Linked DNA regions of Homo sapiens: region 2 is linked to region 1. The links are contacts of gene promoters, found by promoter capture Hi-C in blood cells and fetal thymus (Javierre and others, 2016). All regions are on one chromosome and are shown on one strand. The core of a region is centred on a gene start or on the middle of the fragment in contact, and the rest is flanking DNA. Distances in the headings are between cores, read along the strand shown. Region 1 holds the start of NPL (N-acetylneuraminate pyruvate lyase). Region 2 has its middle 120 kb from the start of LINC01344.

Region 1 (3,483 bases), core at 915-3,414:
TTTCGCCTTTATAATTTTTCCCTTCGTTACCTCTTATCTAGACAAATAGGCAAAACCCCAGGTCCACAGGGCCCAAGAAGGTTCAAGTGATAAGAGTCCTGAGAGCTTGAGTCAGCATTAAACACCTCCTAAATCCAACACTACTAGGCTGTTCAGGCTAAATAAAACTCCGTAGTCTTGTGCTTTTGCCTGCATTTATTTGATACTAAGGACGGTAACACTGATGTTCTTAGAATCATCAGAAGCTCAAATTGGCAGTTTTATATGTCTTTAATGGAAAGAAATAAAACTAATTACCACAAATGTAGTTTGATTAGTTCAAAAATTCAAAACAAGGGGCCGTTGGGAGTGTAGGATAGGGGTTAGGAATCACTGTCCTAATCCCTCTTCTCTTCTTCAATCCACACCAGCTGTCAGATTAATCTTCCAGTAACACCAGCATTTCTGGTCTTGTCTTTGTCCTGTTTAGAAAATGCCAGTAGGCTAAAGAACCAGCTCCCTGGGGTCTGGGTCTCTATTGAAATCTTCGTGCCTGCACTATACTTGCCCAGCTGAACAAACTGTTTGCTGTTCCTCCTATCTACCTTTCACTGTCTGTCTGCTTGCCTTTGTTCCTGTGGTTCTCTCACTTCAATCTCTTCGGTCTGATCAACTTTTAAAGCTCACTTTATCCATTCCAGCAGGTATAGCTTAAAAACAAAAACAAACAAAAACCAAAAAACCTCTCATTTTAAAAACCAGGGGATTTCCTGATACCCCAGCCGAAAATAATTTCTTAAACCTCAGAATTCCCCCAAACAGTGGCTTTTCATTAAAAACCTTACATCAGAGTTATTAAGCAGGGTGGTTTTGGCTCCTCTCCTAGACTGTCTGCCATCTGGGGGCAATGGCAGCTTGGAAAATTTCTTTGCACAGATAACTACACTACGTAAAAGTTTGCTGCCTTTGCAAACTTTGAAACGCCTACAGGAAGAAATGGGATAAAAACGACTTTGGCCGGGCGCGGTGGCTCAAGCCTGTAATCCCAGCACTTTGGGAGGCCGAGGTGGGCGGATCACCTGAGGTCAGGAGTTCGAGACCAGCCTGGCCAACATGGCCAAACCCCGTCTCTACTAAAAATACAAAATTAGCCGGGCGTGGTGGCGGGAGCCTGTAGTCCCAGCTACTCGGGAGGCTGAGGCAGGAGAATGGCGTGAACCTGGGAGGTGGAGCTTGCAGTGAGCCGAGATAGCGCCACTGCAGTCCGGCCTGGGCGACAAGAGCGAGACTCCGTCTCAAAAACAACAACAACAACAACAACAACAACAACAACAACAACAACAAAAGACTTTAACAGAGAATGATCAGTATTTTTAAGATTCAAGTTTTTAATAAACTTGGGAATGTTATGCTTTGAAGCATAACAGATAATTATCATTATTTTTAAGATTCAAGTTTTAGATAAACTTGGGAATGTTATGCTTTGAAGTTTTCAGAGCTCGTAGCTAAAGCGAATAGCTCAAATGTTCTCCAGCCTAAGGCTTAATGTGAATTTAGATTATTACTGAAACATTGGGAGGGGGTATTACTCTTGAAATCTTATACCTCCATCCACAGATAAGAACACTCAGTGCAAAGAATTAAAGCTGCCTAAGTCAAATTCTTTTTTAAATGGCAAAGTTGTTTTTTTAAGAGACAGAAAGTGAGGGCAGAATGTACCTCTGGGCAGAGAATATCTTGAGGGACAGGTACTCGGAGAAGAGGAGATACAAATAGGGATTTTTAAAAAAGCAGAAAACCACCAATTTCTCCTCAAGTGAAGGGGGGATGTATCAGGTTTAACTTTAAGCTCTCTTCTGCTCAATTGCTAACTCTATTTTGAGGAAAGGACCTTTGGAGACCCGGCAGATATGCTGTCTGCAAACAATCCGGGGGAGTAAGTTCTTCTGCCCCCGTCTGTCCCTACACTTTTCGCATTCACACCTTCCCCAGATCCGTTTCCCAGCGTATCTGCCTTCCCTCTTTCCTCCGGGTCCGTCAACGTCTCACCCACCCGCGAGTCAGGCCCCAGCGCCCCTCCGCCCGAACGCCCAGGTCGTCGGGCCGTCTGCGTCCGTCTGTCCTAGCCCGTGCCGTCGCGGGCCGCGCTCACCCAGGCCTCCGCTCTTGTCCGTGCAGCCGCTCCGCCCGGCAGCCGCCGCCGCGCTTTATATCCGCGGCCGCCCGGCTCGGGCCCACGTGCCGCCACGCCAGGGAGCCTGGGGGTTGTAGTTCTGCGCCGCCGCCCGCGAGGCGCGCCCGGAACCGCTGGCCCGGAAACCCCGAAACGTTTTGCACACTGGAGTCTGCTCTTCCCCGGGTGTCACCTGAACAACATGGGCTGAAGTGACTCCGGCGCAGCGCCCCGGCTCCCCGAGGATCGGAAGCATCCGAACTGGCGGCCGGGTGCCCGAGAGCACGCGGCTCACCCGCGCCACGCCGAGTGCAAACCTCCCCCTGCCTCGTCTGCACGCCAGTCCTTCCCGCGTGCGGGCACCTCCTGGGCTCCGCTGCGTCTTAATTTTCCTTCTCTTGCGCAGGGCTCTGCAATCCCCACTATCTCGTGGTTCTGCGTTGTGAGGTTTGGGCTGCTGTTTCCGAGGCGTACGGAGAATCCCAACTGCCCATCGGCGTTCAGGTCTCTTCGGGTTGACGCCGCTGCACCAGCCCTGCAGACTCTCGTGTTAAAGAGAGATGAGCGAATTTTAAAGTGAATTATCTACTCATACGGGAGCTTTCCTGGCTTCTTTTGGAGAACATTTGAAAGAGTTTTGAAAGGGAAAATTATTTTTAACCCAACCGCCTCTACTTTCAGGAGTATCAGGAGTCTTATTCTAGGATCATGTACTGTGTGAATAAATCAGGAACAGAGCCAGAGACAAGTCCTCAGTTTTCTCTTGCTGATGTGATTCCACCTCAATTTTCCATAAAAGGCGATGGCTGATGCTTATTATTACATTTAGAGAAACTAAATTGTTCAAAGGGCTTTCTAGTTTGCAAAGTGCTTTTAAATGTATTCTAATAGTTCTTTCGTTGCACAGAGCACCAGAGATAATAGCTAATAAGTACTGTGTTCAGTGCTTACTCAGCCTGCACCGTTCTAGCTGTTTTAACATTTAATTCATAAAATAATCCCATTGGTGGGTCCTGTTTTATAAATGTATATATTACAGATGAGCAAGGATCATTCCATTTTACAGATCAGAAACAGGTTTAAAGAGTTGAAGTAATTTGCCAAAAGCCATAGAGCTGGTTAAGCTGTGGTTTGATTTCAAGTAGTCCAGAAGCTTGTGCTTTTAACACTATGTTATCCTACAGGAAAAAAAAATACAAAAAGAAAAGAAAAAGAAAAACCCTTAGTTACATGAAGCAAGTTCTCCTAAGGCTGCAGCATGGTTTTTGTTTTGGTTTGGTTTTTGTAATATTAACAAGAATATTATATCCTAATGGTACAATGAAAGTTTT
Region 2 (3,920 bases), core at 607-3,106, 600 kb after region 1:
ATTTCCTAGCCTCCCAATCATGTAGGTGGGGCCATGAGACTTCATAGAATGTGGGTAGACATGATGTGTACCCCATCCAGGCCTGGCTTCTGAACCTTCTTTTGCAACCTCCTCATAATCTCTCTCTCTGCTGGTTGGAGAACCAAATGCAGGAACTCAGTGGAGGATTTCAAGGAGGCTTTAGTGAATGGCAGAACCACTGGACACAAGCAGCTTGGGATCCTGAGTTGGCATTTGGAGATCTTTCCATGTCAGCATGTAGAGAAAGACCCAGTTCATTTTTTAGCAACTGGAAGATGATCCATTTTATGGAAGCACCATGAAGTATTCAACAAATTCCCAGTGATAGATTATTTGTATCCATTTGTTACTATAAACAAGAGTGTGGTTATATCTATCTATCTAGCTAGCTATCATCTATATATATATCTGTTATCCATATAATGATTTCTTTGCATACTTACAAGCACATTCTTACAAGCGGGATTTCTGGCTAAAGGGTACTTGTATTTCTAAGGCTTTGTACCAGCTGTCCCTCCAGCCTGGACTGTTCTTTTTTAAGATCTTCACAAAGCTAGATTCTTCTTATCATTCAGGTTTCAACTTAAGTAGTACTTGATACCATATCACCTGCTTTGTTTTTACCATAGAACTCATCACTACCCTGTCTTTTATCTTTTGATTTACCAGTTCATTTTTCCCTCTCTCCACTAGAATGTAAGCTCCTCTTGAGAGCTCAATAAATGTAATTGTTGGAAACATGAGTAAATGATGAATGAATGAATGAATGAATGAATGAATAAATGAGTGAGTGTTACATGTAGAAATTAAAAACAAGGCAGCAAAATGTTAACCGTGGTTATAGATGTTTTATTCTTTATGCTTATCTAAATTTTTTAAATTTCTTGACATAAAAATATATGCTTTTGTAATCAGAAAAAGATCTGAAAAAACCTATATTTTTAAAGCATGGCTGAACCCACACAACAGTTGGGAGAACATAGTGAAAAATATCAAGAACCAAACTTAAATATAGTTTTGGAGAAAAGGAATAATGCAGAATATTGTTTACAGGGTATGTCTGGTTTTTATTTATGTTTTTGGATGGAGATGGTCTCATTTTGGCTATTTAGTGTTTTCTATATTTAGTGTTTGGTTATTTAGTGTTTAAGAATTTATTATAGATCAAGTGTATGTACTAATTAATAGCTACGTAGTGTTTTTGCTATTTGAATTGCAAATATGCTTAATTTAAAGAAATCTGTTAAAAAAGATAGGAAAGTTATTAGGCTAAACCAACAAAGCTGAAGTAAAAATGTTTATAAAATCTATTTTTTTTTTTTTACATTTTTTGCCTTAATTTCCACCTTAGAAGGACCTTCTGTTGGAAACTGGTTGCTCTTTACTTTGCCTTAGACTCATTTCTTTCTCTTTTTTTCTTAATTTTAGAGACAGGGTCATTCTCTGTCCCCCAGGCTGGAGTGTAGTGGTGCCATCATAGCTCATTGCATCATCAATGTCCTGGGCTCAAGCAATCCTTCCACCTCAGCCTCTCTAGTAGGTGGGACTACAGGAGCGCATTACCATGCCCAGCTAATTTTTTCAATTTTGTAGAGATAGGCTCTTGCTTTGTTGCCCAGGTTTGTCTTGAACTCCTAGCCTCAAGCGATTCTCCCATCTGGGCTTCCCAAAGTGTTGGTATACAAGCATGAGCCATTTCATGGGACCTGAGACTCATTTCTTGTGTCTGATGAGGCCAGCTCCTCCTCCAAGGTGACGTGCTACAACCAAGGCACTGTAGCCCAAGAGTATCTATTGCTTCACATTGGAACTGGACAGCTGGCTTGTGGTTTCATAGATTTCATAAACATGTTTCAGGCACCGAGGTATCTGTTGCAACTCCAGATGCTAAAGCCAGCAAGGAAGCCAGCTCTATAATGATCAGTTGGAAAGCCAGAATTTGAACTCTGGACCTGATAAACTCCCAGTGTCAGCTTTAGGAGATGAAATACAAATTCCTTGGGAAATCTAAGTAGCACATTTTTTTTCCCAATATATGTGCCATGGCAGTACAAATTTAACTGAGATAAACTGATGGTCTGGATAGGTTAAAGAAGATAATCACATGAGGTCAATAGCTGGGCTGAAGTAACTCTTGAATTTACCTGCTGTTGCTAAGCCTTGACTGCTGTTATGAGTCCTGATGCATGTAAGTCTCTGGGATATTTCCAACTATTTAAGAAATCTATGGGATGATGCTATAGGCTGAACATTTGTGTCCTCTAAAAATTCATATGTTGAAGCTCTAACCCCCAATGTGACTGTATTTGGAGATAGAGCCTTTACAAAAGCAATTATGGCTAAAGGAAGTGATACGGTTTGACTCTGTGTCCCCACCTCAAATCTCACCTTGAATCGTGTAATCCCCACGTGTCAAGAGTGGGACAAGGTGGAGATAACTGAATCATAGGGGCAGTTTCCCCCATGCTGTTCTCATGATAGTGAGTGAGTTCTCACAGGATCTGATGGTTTTGTTAGCTTCACTCAGCTCTCATTCTCTCGCGTGCCACCATGTGAAGAAGGTGCCTGCCTCCCCCTCAGCTTCTGCCATGATTGTAAGTTTCCTGAGGCCTTTCTAGCCATATGGAACTGTGAGTCAATTAAACCTCTTTCCTTTATACATTACCCAGTCTTGGGTATTTATTCATAGCAGCGTGAGAATGAACTAATACATCCATAAGGGTAGGGCCCTGATCTGACACAGTTAGTGTCCTTAGAAGAAGAGGAAGAGAGACAGGAAGGTGCTCTCACTTTCTCTCTGTATGTCTCTGTCTGTCTGTCTGTCTCTTTCTCTCTCTGCTCACCCACACCGAGGAAAAGCCACATGAACACACATGGAGAAGGTGGTCATCCACAGACCAGGAAGAGGACCCTCACCAGAACCTGACCTGGCACCCTGATCTCAGACTTATAGCCTCTAGAACTGTATAAAAATAAATTTGTTTTTTAAGCCACCCAGTATGTGATATATTCTGTTATGGCAGTCCAAGGACATTAAGACAGATAGGGACAGAAAGATGTCTTTTGGGAGTGAAGTCCCACAGTAAAGGTTAAAAAGAAAAGTACCCATTCTAGTAAAGAAAATGTGCAGGCATCTTAGCCAGGGTCACCCTTTTTAAGCACAGGTCAGATTATATCACTCCTTAGTTTAGAAGCCTTCCAAGATTCCCTGGACCTTATAGGACAAAGTTGAAACTTTTTGCATGGCTAACTTAGCCCTCCCAGCTCTACCAGAGCCTACAATTGGGGGCTCTGCTTCAGCCACCATCATCCTGCCCTGGTTGTGGCATGTCACCTTGGAGTAGAAGCTGGCCACAAAGGACTCAAGAAATGACCCTGGGTCAGAGTAAGAATCAACCAATCAGCGTTTCCAACAGAAAGTCCCTCTAAGGTGGCTTCAGCTTCTCTGCCTCAGAAGTTGGCCACAGCCAATGATAGCAATCTACTCATGGGGCTGTCCCTTCTGTCTTCTCATTGGTTTCACATTGATCCTCTCACTTTGCTCACCATATTCCCCCTGACTGAAGCATTTCTTCTGCCGATCCTTTCAAGGCCACCTGACTTCCTCCGTGAAGCCTACACTGATGCCCATTTCCTCCATTGCTATTCCATTGTTTTTAAGATGCACATTTGTTCACATCCTATCTTCTGTAGCAAACATTGTTGGTGTTCTGCCCAGATCCTCTTGGATTCTTTGTAGATTTCTGTGCACCTTTCCTCATATAAATGTGGGCTTCTGCTTCCAACTGCCTGCCCTTGCTATTCTCTTCAAAAGACTGCTCTAGGGCTGCCCAGAGCAGAGAGCTGAAAATATAATGTCCCCGGGCATCCTTGGCCCAGGACTAGTGCAGAAGTATGAA

What was found. Contacts are between HindIII fragments. The CHiCAGO score rates a contact against its expected background, and 5 or more counts as called.
Region 2: a contact is called between a fragment that was not itself captured here and the fragment with the promoter of NPL in region 1, in 4 of 17 cell types (M0 macrophages, M1 macrophages, neutrophils and 1 more). The highest score is 9.4, in M0 macrophages.

Annotation. Positions count from the first base shown.
Region 1 is chr1:182,788,454-182,791,936 of GRCh38, reverse strand. NPL (N-acetylneuraminate pyruvate lyase) reads right to left here and starts at 2,164. Exons shown (of 13, transcript NM_030769.3): 1 at 2,132-2,164. RefSeq lists an enhancer at 2,011-2,511. The HindIII fragment of the contact is 6,627 bases long and covers 1-3,307 here.
Region 2 is chr1:182,191,989-182,195,908 of GRCh38, reverse strand. No RefSeq gene overlaps it. Among named protein-coding and RNA genes, the nearest start is that of LINC01344, 120 kb to the left of the region's middle. The HindIII fragment of the contact is 7,202 bases long and covers 1-3,920 here.